Linked DNA regions of Homo sapiens: regions 1 and 3 are each linked to region 2. The links are contacts of gene promoters, found by promoter capture Hi-C in blood cells and fetal thymus (Javierre and others, 2016). All regions are on one chromosome and are shown on one strand. Each heading gives the region's core, a stretch centred on a gene start or on the middle of the fragment in contact. The rest is flanking DNA. Distances are from core to core; before and after follow the strand shown.

Evidence for each region. The method cuts DNA at HindIII sites, captures the fragments that hold promoters and counts their contacts. A CHiCAGO score of 5 or more calls a contact.
Region 1: a contact is called between a fragment that was not itself captured here and the fragment with the promoter of UTP3 in region 2, in 1 of 17 cell types (monocytes). The highest score is 7.2, in monocytes.
Region 3: a fragment that was not itself captured here is called in contact with the fragment with the promoter of UTP3 in region 2 in 1 of 17 cell types (monocytes); the score reaches 5.6 in monocytes.

The regions. Positions count from the first base shown.
Region 1 is chr4:71,256,574-71,260,841 of GRCh38, reverse strand. The region is part of intron 3 of SLC4A4 (solute carrier family 4 member 4); the gene reads right to left. Among named protein-coding and RNA genes, the nearest start is that of SLC4A4, 71 kb to the right of the region's middle. The HindIII fragment of the contact is 4,088 bases long and covers 240-4,268 here.
Region 2 is chr4:70,685,505-70,689,861 of GRCh38, reverse strand. It overlaps UTP3 (UTP3 small subunit processome component), which reads right to left and starts at 1,330. Exons shown (of 1, transcript NM_020368.3): 1 at 1-1,330. The coding sequence starts at 1,184. LOC101927297 (a long non-coding RNA gene) reads right to left here. Exons shown (of 4, transcript XR_938860.3): 4 at 3,046-3,255. RefSeq lists enhancers at 1,205-1,264, 466-1,434, 1,965-2,054, 1,435-2,405. The HindIII fragment of the contact is 6,672 bases long and covers 1-4,357 here.
Region 3 is chr4:69,753,684-69,757,510 of GRCh38, reverse strand. It overlaps SULT1B1 (sulfotransferase family 1B member 1), which reads left to right. Exons shown (of 8, transcript NM_014465.4): 2 at 2,250-2,441; 3 at 2,713-2,841. The coding sequence starts at 2,294. Among named protein-coding and RNA genes, the nearest start is that of SULT1B1, 5.0 kb to the left of the region's middle. The HindIII fragment of the contact is 1,887 bases long and covers 1,538-3,424 here.

The DNA of each region.
Region 1 (4,268 bases), core at 1,034-3,533, 570 kb before region 2:
ACTATGATTAAAATCGATCATCCCCTTTTTACATATGAGGAAACTAGAGCACAAAGAAGTTAAGTAAATAACCAAGGTTACACTGCTGGTATGAACTGGGATTCAAACTCAAGTAATCTGGCTCAAATATGCACTCTTAACCACTCTGATATGCTCCCTTTCCAGCAAAATTACAACACAAGTGTCCCTTCTGAAAAGGCAAACTGTAAGTTTTAAAACATTTTTTAATATAAAAAGCTTTTGTACTCAGACCTAAAGACAAAGTACTTCCTCCTACTTATATAAGGTGAAAAATAGAGAAGGGGATGAAAGAGATGGTATAGTTTTATTGTGTTTGTGTTTTGTTTTTTAAACTGGGACAGGTCTACCTCATTTTCATACATTTCCAAAGCCTTTTCTCCTATATATAGATCGATTTTTGAGAATACCAATGGCATGTAGAAAATTAAAGAAACCTTATTTTATGGTATCAAAATTAAGGATCTTGCCTGAAAACATTTTAAAAATCAAGAAAAAGTACAAATGTACCAAGAAGTATGAGGTCAGGTTGGGAGGGGTGTGCACTGGGAAAAGGGGAAGTCAAATGACACAACACCAAATATTCTTGGCTCTTATGAAAAGCTACTCTGTTCATTTACCCGGAAGCACCAAACAAAAGCAGCTGCCCATTTCTCTGTTTCAGTTTCCTGAATATAACTGGATCACCAACCAGCATCCATTGTCCCAGGCTCACAGAACAATGTTCACTAGCATAAATCCATCAGTTCTGGTACACATCCAAAAAGCTAAAAAAGAATACCACAAGACTGAATGAGTGTCTGTATGGACATACCTAGCGCTATGATTCCACAACGGGCAAGACCTGTGTGTGAGAGGCAGTTAGCACCTCCAAGCATGAATGCATGTTCATGCTTGTCAAGAAATATCTTACACATCAGATCAAAATGCTGAACACGATGTTCTGTTTGTAGCTTTGTTTCCTACCATCTTACACATCTTCAGGATCTCTACAGTCACAAAGTAGCCTGTGATGCCCCCATAAGTATCCCTGGACACTAACAAAATGGGAGGCACAGAGGCCAAAACCATGTAGGCTGGGAAGGTATGCTGTGTTTCCAAAGCCTATCTCAGCCAGGACCACCTTCCCACCCACTTTTTGGGCAACCCTCAGAGGATGGCAGCTGCTAACTTAGAAAAAAAAAATGCACAGTGGAGGAGGCAAAAGGATTATTTTTAAGAAAGAGCACAATCTAACTTTTCTCTCAACCACCCACTCCACACCACCTCCTCATTCCCTTGTCTCTCCTGCTTGTTCTTCCATTTCACTTTCCTTCCCCAGCTTCTCTCTCCCCATGGCTCAGTGCACCACGCTCTCACACACGTTTCCTTCTCTGTGTCCCCAGCTGGGACACCAGCTCTGACGCCACACTGGGAATAGCAGCTGTGAAAGGACTTGGAGCTGCTGCTGAGCTCAGAGGGGGATACGAAGCTAGCTCGCTTCCTCCTCAGAGCTCCAAATGTGTAAAAATCAAACACTCATTTATTTTTTAGAAACCCGGTCTTGACACCAAAGCCATGAAGAAAATAGAAAGCGTTAGGTTATAAACTAAATGAACCTGTTAATTATGCCATCTCCTTAATGTGCCTAAATACTGGAAGATATTTCGTTTACTTCTTATAAATGCCCTTTCATGTTTTTGTAGAGACAGGGTCTCACTATATTGCCACGGATGAAGCACAGCAGCTATTCACAGGGGCAATCATAGAGCACTACAGCTTCAAACTCCTGGGCTCTGATGATCCTCCCACCTCAGCCTCTGGAGCACCTGGGACTATAGGCATGTGCCACGGTGCCAGCTCATGTCACCTTAATATGGCTTCTGAAGGGGGGCTGCCTGCTCTGTGGAACAGTGAGCATTTTTAAGTGTATATAAAAAATTAATGTGCCTTGCGGTTCAGTTTCATCCCTCACCTGTGGTTAACAAGCAGCTGCACACACTTGGGAGTTACCTACCCAGACCAAAATCCCACTTTGGCGATAGACAAAATAATGAGGCACTTTCCAAAGTGGGATAATTAAAAGCGAAGACCAGATTTTATGTGCCAAGGGAGAAAGGCAGGGCAGGGAAATATAAATACGATGTTCCAGGCTTAAAAACAAGAAAATCAGCTGGATCTCTATCTAGGATATAAGAAATATTTAGACCAATTAAAGCAATGCTTACGTCTTTCTCTGTAGTAATTCATTCATTCAGTTACTCCTCAATAAACACGTATGAAAAACACACTATGTGCCAGGCATTGTGCGGCGCCAAAGATAACAAAGTGAACAAGACAACCTGATCTTTGCTCTCACGGAGTTTACAATCCAGCAACAGCTCAAGACAAACCTGTAAGCTCTCAAAAATCACATGTTAAAACATATATTCTGAAGGAAACATAAGGCGTTGGGAAAGAATAATGAAGGGGAATCTGCACTAGAGAGAGTAGTAAGGAAAGGACTCTCTGAAGAGGTAAAATTTAAAAGCCAGAACATACAGGAACAGAAAAACTAACCAGGACAAGAATGGGCTGACCATTTCAGGAAGACAAGTTTGCATGAACAAAGGCCCTGAGGCAGAAAAGGTTTTAGCACCAAGGAACTCCAATATCAATGTATCTGGAGTAAAGTGAGCAAGGAGAGAATGGCACATCACAGGACTAGAAAGACACTGGGCCATGATGCCCAATTGAGGTTTTATTCTTAGGACAATGGGAAGTTTTCAGCAGAGGAAGGACATGATCCAATTTACACTTTATGATGATCAATGGTGCCTCTCTATGAAGAAATACTTAAAAAGCAGAGACTGCTGCAGTGTCTATGCAAGAGGTGATGATTCCCTGGACAAAAATGTGACCGCAAAACTGAAAAGAACAGAAAAATTCAGATCTATTTTAAATGTTGAACCAACAGAAATCATTGAAGGATTGCATATGAGGGTGAGAGCAAGGAAAGAATCAAAGATGACTCCCATCAAGTTACTATTTATATGTGGGCTTTTTGGTTTTTGTTTTTCTCAGAAGTATAAGCATCACATCGCGCACTGCCAGACACATGTGGGAACCTTGTCTATGGGACGTGGTATGTCTATGGACATAAGCAACTCAAACACCATAGGTCACAGAACAACAGAAACTGTTATGTGGCTGTTCTTGAGAGACAATAATAGTATAGTAGGCAAGTATTTCATTCAGTTTTCCCACAACAATTTTGTCATCATGTTGGTGCCAGAGCCCTATGGCTTCCCCCAAAATCATGGGGTTAAATGTCTTTCTATATCTAGGTGCAAAAACTCTGACTTTTAAACAGAACTGTACCAAATAATTAACTACCAATCCATCAAAGCAGCTGAGGATATACAGCAATTTCTAAGAGAATCTTCATGTCAAATTGGATAACTCATATCAAATATGCCAAAGGCATATTAGTGTATAACATTGATCAGCAGGAACAAAACGGTAAAATGCATACTTATAAATAATTTTTTTATGATCACTGAACAATTTAGTCCTTAACAACTGTCTCTCCATAGGATCCCTTCAGAAAACCAGTATACAACATAATGCAGTATTCCCCCAGGAAGAAACCTCTGAGGGGAAAGAGAATGGATTGCCTTGTTTATTTTAAATGCTGTATTCAAACTGGTCCCCAAATGCCACAGAATGCAACAGTATTCTATGGTTGATACACATGCGGTCTCAGCATCTTCCTGATCTGTTCATTCCTTATGACCTATCTGAGTGCTGCTGGCACTGTTTCCACTGCCCTTCTCAAAAGCTGATATATAATTTTAATCTCAAAATTCCTGGGCCTATTTGTCTAGGTGAGCACCTCTTTACTTTTTAACATTAATAGTGATGATGCACTCTTGTTCTAATCTGAAGAATGAAAGACAAGTTATAAAAGACACAGAGAGGAGAGAAAGAGAGAGAGTAGACAATCACATGCACAATGGACAGAACACTTGACACTGGCTCAGGCCTTGACAGATGGATACAGAGTAAATCAAGATAAATGGTAGTCATTTATTTGGAAAAGAATGTTATCTTTTGTTCCTCCAGACTATTAACTGTGCCATGTTTATGTGCATTTTAAGGCCTTTTCTCAAAACAGACTCCACTACCTTAATCGATATGTAAAGGATCCCTTTCAGACAGACCTTCCCCCAGTACTTCAGTGAAAAGTACATAACTTGAGTCTCCTGCCTTCTGGTCCTTCTAAGTCTTAA
Region 2 (4,357 bases), core at 81-2,580:
TTTTCTTCTTTCTTTCTCTTTAGCTTTTGCCTGTCTTCTATTTCTTTATAGTACTTCAGTTTTGCTTTTTCATCAAAATCAGAATCATCAGAAAGATCTGTAACAGCACAGGCAGCAGCAGAAGTCTTTGAAACAGACTTTGGTTTGGGCTTGGTGGATTTTGCTTTTGGAATCAGTTCTTTCTTTACAGCATCATCCTTAAGTGTCAACAGATGACGAATTTCTGAGGACAGCTTCTGATCCACAACGGACAGCTTGTTGATCAAATTTCGGTAGGTAACAAGCCTTTCTATGACAGGATGTCCATGTGCTGGGACTCTCCTAGCTTTCAGGATCAAATAAAAACTGATGTTCGAGCAATAATTCAAGTAGAGGTTGTACTTGGTCCTCAAGTATTGGCTTCCTTTTCCGGGTGGAATGATCCCTTGTTCCACCAACTCTAACAATGGCTCCAGCTCATCCTTAACCTCTGTCAACTTGACTTTCAGGTCTTCTATCAGCTCCAAGAGTTCTGGTGATTCCTTTCGCAACATTTTCAGCTTCTCTTTCACTGAAACTTTAGCCAAATCCTTCACGACCCGTGTCTCAGCCTCATCTACCTGAGGCACTGGTTTTGCAAAGGCCTCAACCCAGGCGACACCAAAATCATCCTCTTGCAGCGCTTGGGCTAGGCGCCGCTGAATGATCTGTGCCTCCTCCTCCTCCTCTCTTTCCTCCTCCTCTGCCTCCTGTTGACTCTGCCGGCCTCGGGACTTGGAACCATAGTCCGTGTCATAGTAAAGTTTTTTCCTCTGACCCCACGACAAACTGGGATCCACAGAGGCCTCAGCTTCACTTTGCACGGAGCTCCCACCATCATCATCGGCATTCTCCTCCTCCTCCTCCTCCCCCGCATTCCCTCCATCTTCGTCGTCCTCATCGTCCATATCTAGGGCTAGCACCTCCTCCTCCTCCTCCTCGCCATCCTCCTCGTCTCCACTCTGTACTTCATTCCAGCCCTTAGCTAAGGCGGCCCGGGATCGTGCCTCATGAAAGTCATCTACCTGATCTTGGTAGTAGCTGGTGTCCCCTGGTGAGGGTGGCAATCCTAAATCATCTCCATTTTCGTCGGTGAGCGTGGGACCTGCCTTGGCTCGCACAGCTGCCCACTTAGCTGCTCCGCGCCGCCGGGATCTCCCCACCATGGCTCACAATCTCAGGTTTTACAGCGACTCCGGACTTTCGGCCACCACTGACTTCGGCGCAGGAATCAGGCGCTCCGGTAACTCGTGGCTCTAAACAGCAGCGCGCTCCCCTACCACCGGAGTTTGCAGACTCCTGATCGGCTACTGGAATTTCCTCTTCCTTCCGGCCCCCAGCATGCTCTCCGCGTGGCGTACGATTGAGGACTTCCGCTCGGTCCCTTAGTCGAGATCACGTTGATACCAACTTCCTTTTCACTGTGCCCTTTAACGCCAGTCGATTCCGGTGAATTAAAATCTTTCCGTGTGGAAACGATAGGATAAGGAAGTTCCGTTCCACAGAACGCTTTCTCGGGCTAATGCGCTTACTCTCGAGTGCCTGGGAGTGGCTGGGGGACGGAATCCTGACGGCACCTCCAGGCGAGGTCCCGATGGCCAATAGAGGGCGCTGCGCTTTACGCCCCGGAGAAGTCCCGGGGGCGTTCCATTGAGGTTTAACTGCGTGTGTACCCGGCGCTTGCGACCGGCAGTCTAGTGCTAGCGTAGTTTTCCTGCTCCCTTGTTTTCTCTTTTCTGCTTATCAGGCTGGAAGTTAATCAGATTGCTTTCCTCTCATTTCACCCCCACCCCCAATACCATATTTCTGGGTACCACAGCCTCAGGCAGCGCCGCTGGACTCCAGAATCCCACGGGAGGTTTCCGGGCGAGAGCGCAGGCCGGGCCTCCGGCTCGGGTTTACTCATCCCCATCGCCCTCTCCCTGCTCACAGGGCTCGGTGACCCGCTCCATGGGGATCGATAAAGCTAGATGACCCCGAGGCTGACAGTGGGAAGGCAGAGCCCCGCTGCAGGGTCTGACTCTTCTCAAGGAAGTCTGCCCTGTAATGTTAGAGTAATTCAGGGTGTAAGTTTTTAGGCATTACATATGTAAGGTTCAGGGTTAGTATTATTATACCTTTTAATGTAGGTAGTTGGAAGCTGAACTTTTGATACGTTGCTAAAATTAATGGTGACATGGCTGGGCGCGGTGGCTCATGCCCATAATCCTAAGCACTTTGGGAGGCCGAAGTGGGTGGATCACTTGAGGTCAGGAGTGCAAAACCAGCCTGGCCAACATGGGGAAACCCAGTCTCTACTACAAATACAAAAAATTAGCGGGGCGTGGTGGCGGGTACCTGTAATCCCAGCTACTCGGGAGGTTGAGGCAGGAGAATCACTTGAACCCGGGAGGCGGAGGTGGCAGTAAGCCGATATCGCACCACTGCACTCTAGCCTGGGCGACAGACAGAGACTCTGTCTCAAAATAAATAAATAAATAAATAAAATAAAATTAATGGTGACAATTTCTTTTTCTTTTGTTTTTTGTTTCTTTTTTCTTTTTCTTTTTTTCTTTTTTTTTTTTTGAGACGGAGGCTCGCTCTGTTGCCAGGCTGGAGTGCAGTGGCAATCTCGGCCCACTGCAACCTCCGACCCCCTGGTTCAAGTGATTCTCCTCCCTCAGCCTCCCGAGTAGCTGGCATTACAGGCACGCGCCACCACTCCCAGCTAATTTTTGTATTTTTAGTAGAGACGGGGTTTCATCATGTTGGCCAGGATGGTCTCCATCTCCTGACCTCGTGATACGCCCGCCTCGGCCTCCCAAAGTGCTGGGATTGATTACAGGCGTGAGTCACCGCGCCCAGCCAATGGTGACAATTTCTTTTCAGAAAGTATAGTGTCATTAGGTTAATAAAAATAATGCAAAATGTTAGAAAAGTGATACTTTGAAATAAACATTTTCCAAGTGCCTAAAGGTGTCCGAAACATTTTGAAATTTTTACAAGATTTTAGAAAATAAAATTAAATTAGAAAGTTGTGGGCAAAAGTTATGTTCTGATGGTAAGCATGAATTTATTTTTTAATGTAAATTTTAGTACATTTTGTCATTTAGCAGATATTAACTGCTTACTGTTTGTTGTAGAATGCTACAGACAATAGTGATGAATCAGCCAGTTAAGGACTGTATAATCAGGTAGAAAAGAAGACACTCATACAGATTACTGGAATACAAGGCAGTGTATGATGTAAACCCGGTGCTGTAAGAGAACAGAAGGATAAGAGATAACCTTTAGATTGCTGTTTTGGGAATATTGCTTAAAGAATATGACATCTATGCTGGAATTGTAGTTATTTCCTTACTTTAAATGTTAAATTTTCATTATTTAAACACTGTTGCATTTAGGCACATAAATAAAAATTTTTCATTTTTATTGCAAATTATTTGAGAATTTAGTGTCAGACTTCAAGACTAAAATGCATATACTATTATATATAAGTTAGAAAAATATTTTGGATATTTTAAATGGGAATGATCACATTAATATTATTTAGTTTATACTAAATGTTAAATTTCCTAACCAGAACAGAGTTGCAGTATTCAATGCATATTCAGAGAGTATCGTATTCTAACATTCTCAGATCCTTTGTTTTTAGAGACAGGTGCCTGCTGTGTTCCCCAGGCTGGGTAGAACTCCTGGGCTTAAGTGATCTCCTGCCTCAGCCTCCTGAGTAGCTGGGACTAAAGGTGCGTGCCGCTTCACCCAGTTTTTCAGATCCTTTTGATAAAGAACAATTGATTCTCCTGCCTCAGCCTCCCACGTAGCTGGGATTACAGGCACCTGCCACCACACCTGGGTAATTTTTTTGTGTGTTTTTTTTTTTTTTTTTTTTAGTAGAGATGGGGTTTCACCATGTTAGCCAGGCTGGTCTCAAACTCCTGACCTCAGGTGATCTGCCCACCTCAGCCTCCCAAAGTGCTGGGATTGCAGGTGTGAGCCATCGCACCCAGCCAATCTGAATCTTTATTTTATTGTGATGTCTGGCTCAGGAGTTAGCAAGTTACACTAATGAGAGCCAGCAGGTTAAAAAAAAATTGTTTTTGCCTTACTCTAAGCCCTTTATGGGATTTTCTTACTATGGAAATTAGGGAGTCTATGAATGACACATTAGGTGATGATACATTAGGATACTTCTTTCAGGGCATTTATTCTGGGTGTTGGAGGTATTGTATGATCACATTAGCTTAAACTAATCTTTATTTCTTCCTGGACTATTGAAACAATTATAATTAATAATAGCTAACATTGAGAGTGGTTATTGTGTGCTAGATACCATTACAAGCTCTTGAAACCATTATAA
Region 3 (3,827 bases), core at 1,232-3,731, 930 kb after region 2:
AAGCATACCTCTTTCTATACAAATTAACATTAGGTAAACTAGTTTAAGCTCCAGCTAGCTGTTAAATTATTGATTTTTGTTTGTGGGTCCACAAATTACTTACAAAATATTTACCAGAAACTATTATACTTAATCAATTAAGAACCTCTGATTGGCAATCTTTAAAGTTATTTTACTAGAAGCAATGCGATTTCATCTAAGATATTATGCAATTTATGCTGCAATTAGTTCAAATTCTATCTATACAATAGTAAACATGTTATATGTTATTAAATTAACAGATCTTAAGAAATAAATGGAACATCGATTATGAAGGAATCTATAAATTGTAAAATAAATAAAGTTGATGTAAAATGAAAAAACATTATTAAAAGCAAGGCTATGGTTTTACTTACAAAGTTCAGTGGAAATAGTGGAAAAAATAAATAATAAGTAGCTCTTTGTGATGCCAATTTTATGTGTCCAATTGATGGGGCCACAGGAAACCCAGATGTCTGATGAAAAATTACTTTGTGTGTGTGTGTGTGTGTCTGTGTGTGTGTGTGTGTGTCTGTGAGGGTGTTTTCAGATGAGATTAAAATTTAAATTGGCAGATTGAGTACAGCAGATTGCCTTCCCTAATGTGAATGGGACTCACGCAATCAGTTGAAGGCCTGAATAGAACCAAAAGGGTGACTCTCCTGGAAGTAAAGAGGAATTCTTCCTGTCTGACTGCCTTTGAACACATACATATATGACATTATTTTAGAGGCAGGTATGCAGGCATATTCCAGGATATGTAGGGTGACCTGGAAAACTGGAGACCCAGTAGAGCTGATGGTTTAGCTCTAGTCAAAAGGCTGGCAGGCTGGAGATCCAGGAAGAGCAATGCTTCAGTTTGAGTCTGCAGGCAGGAATAAAGAAACAAACAAAAAACAACGATGTTTTGATTAAAGCTCAAAGGCAATTAGGTAGAAGGAATACTCCTAGGAGCATCACCCTTTTTGTTCTACTCAGACTTCAACTAATTGGCTGAAGATCACCCACTTAGGCAGGACAATCACTCAGTCTACCAATTTAAATATTAATCTAGTCCTAAAACACCAATACAGAAACACTCTGAGTAGTGTTTGGCCAAATGTCTGGGGACTCCTTGGCACAGTCAGGTTGACACAAAAAATTATCAATGACAGCTTCTAATCAAGAAGAAGTTAACAGGAACACCAAGCATCCAATAAAAAATTATCAGACATGTAAACAAGGAGAAAAAGCCTACCATAATGAGAAAAAAATCAATCAATTGAAAACAACATAGAATTACCCAGATGTTAAACAAAGAAAAAAATCATTATAACCGTACTTAGTATGCTTAAAAAGTTGAGAACAAAAAAATAAACATATTGAAATTGAACAGCCAGAGATTAAAACTACAAAGCCAGAGATAAAAATACACTGGATAGGAGTAAAGACAGATTAAACATTGCAGAAGAAAAGGTTAGTAATTACAAAGACATAGCAATAGAGAATATCCCAAATGAAACACACACAGAGAAAAGCTTTTTAAAAAACTAAATAGATAATCTCTCAGCTGTGGGCAACTTCATATGGCCTAATATACATGTAATTATAGTCTCAGAAGGAGAGAGAGATGGAAAAAATATTTGAAGAAATAATGGCTGAAAATTATCCAAATTTGATGGAAACCGTAAACTCACAATTTCAAGAAGCTCAATAAAGCTAAAATGTATACGCGCGTGCACACACACACACATGAAAATAACCACACCTAGGAACATTATAATCTACTTGCTCAAAATAAGTGATAAAGAAAGAAACCTTAGAAGCACACAAAGAAAAAGGATGAATTACAAACTGAAAATCAAAGGTCAGAATGACAGCAAATTTTCTGTAAGGAAAAATGACGTGTAGCTGAAGTCTTAATAATGAGCAGTGGATTTATTTTGCCTTAAGTCAGATTGTTCAGATTGTTTTTGCCATATTTCTGTGAAACACGCTTTTTAATTCAAAGAGAGATATGCAGTTTCATTTCTTTCCAAAACTTCCACTAGAGACCTTTGTCCTGCTTGTCACAGAGCCAGTTACTGCTCTTGCAATCTACTGCACCTAATGCCCACAAAATATGCCCTTTGTACTTAGATCTCCATGTGCGCAGAATGTTAAAGGCCAATTTTACTTTGTGACAAATTGCAGTGTCTTAAGACCAACATTAGTTACTCAGATTCTGATTTTTATTCTCTATATTTCTCCAGAACAACTGTCAATCTATTATATATTTGTACAATCTGGTATTAAAATGCTTTCCCCAAAAGATATTCTGCGAAAAGATCTGAAGTTGGTCCATGGTTATCCCATGACCTGTGCTTTTGCAAGCAACTGGGAAAAAATTGAACAGTTCCATAGCAGACCAGATGACATTGTGATAGCCACTTATCCTAAATCAGGTGAGTTCTGTGGCCTGACAAATTCAAGTCCGACCTCATTTTTTGTTTCCTGGAAATCAACTTGTCCATAAAATCATTACCATTCTAAATAAAGTTAATATTCATTTTGTGCAGCCATCTATTTTAGTATATTAAAATTGGCATTTGGTGCATAGAAAGGGGAATTAAGTTTGTAATAGAATGTGTTAAGATGGTAGTGTTTCCAATAAATTCTTCTCCCTCTCCCGTGCAATTTGGGTAATTATTTTGAAAATGTTGCCTTTTGTCACAGGTACTACTTGGGTTAGTGAAATTATAGACATGATTCTAAATGATGGAGATATTGAAAAATGTAAGCGAGGTTTTATTACTGAAAAAGTTCCAATGTTGGAAATGACTCTCCCTGGATTAAGAACATCAGGTAAATTTAACCCACTTGGAATTATTATTTTGTAATATTATTTAGACAGCATATGCATTATTGTATGTGTGACTTTCACTGAAACCGGAGTAGATTTGGTGACATAAAATGGAAGGTGGCAAACAATATAAAACTGAAGAATAAGAAGAAACTTTATTTTTATCTGTTGTACATCCAGGTATGATATCAAAGATGAAAGAGTCTTACTGTACAAAACAATTAAAAATTTGATTGATAAAATAAACAATATTTTTAAGACTTTTATTTGGTAGAATTTGTCTGATTAGATTAGTAAGTTCCTAATTTAGGACTTTGTTGTAATTAATAAATAAGAAGCAACTTTTCTTAAAACATAAAATTCACTAATACTATTAATTTTTCTTCCACAAAATATTTATGGAATGCTTGTAAAGAATTATTCACTGTGCTATGGTATAGATATATAAGATTAGAAATTGTATATTGTATCACAGGGAGCTTACAGCAATATTGTGACGTCAAAAAGTAAATAACAATATGTCAATGTTCATAGTCTTACATAGTCAAATAATAGGGTTCTGTGGAAGCGAACAATAGGAAAGCTTACTTTAAGTGGGTAATAAAGGAAAAAAACTTAGACAAATTAAATGAGTTTAATTGAGCAAAGGACAATTCACAAATCAGGCAGCCTCTTGAGCCAAAATAGCCTCAGAGATTCCAGAATAGCTACATGGTTTATGGAAGGAAGGAATGTGACATACAGAGAACAGACTTGAGATATAGAAACAGCTGGTTTAGTTAAAGTTTAGTGTCTGACTTATTTGAACACAGTCTGAAGAGCTGGCCACCTTTGATTGGCCAAAACTTGGTGATTCGCACAAGGGTAGAATGTAATATGTTTACACATCCAGTTAGGTTACAATTCACTATGTATAGAGAAACCTTTAAGCCAAACTTAAAATGTGTAAGATGACAGCTTTAGTCTAAACTTAATTTAACAAGGGGTA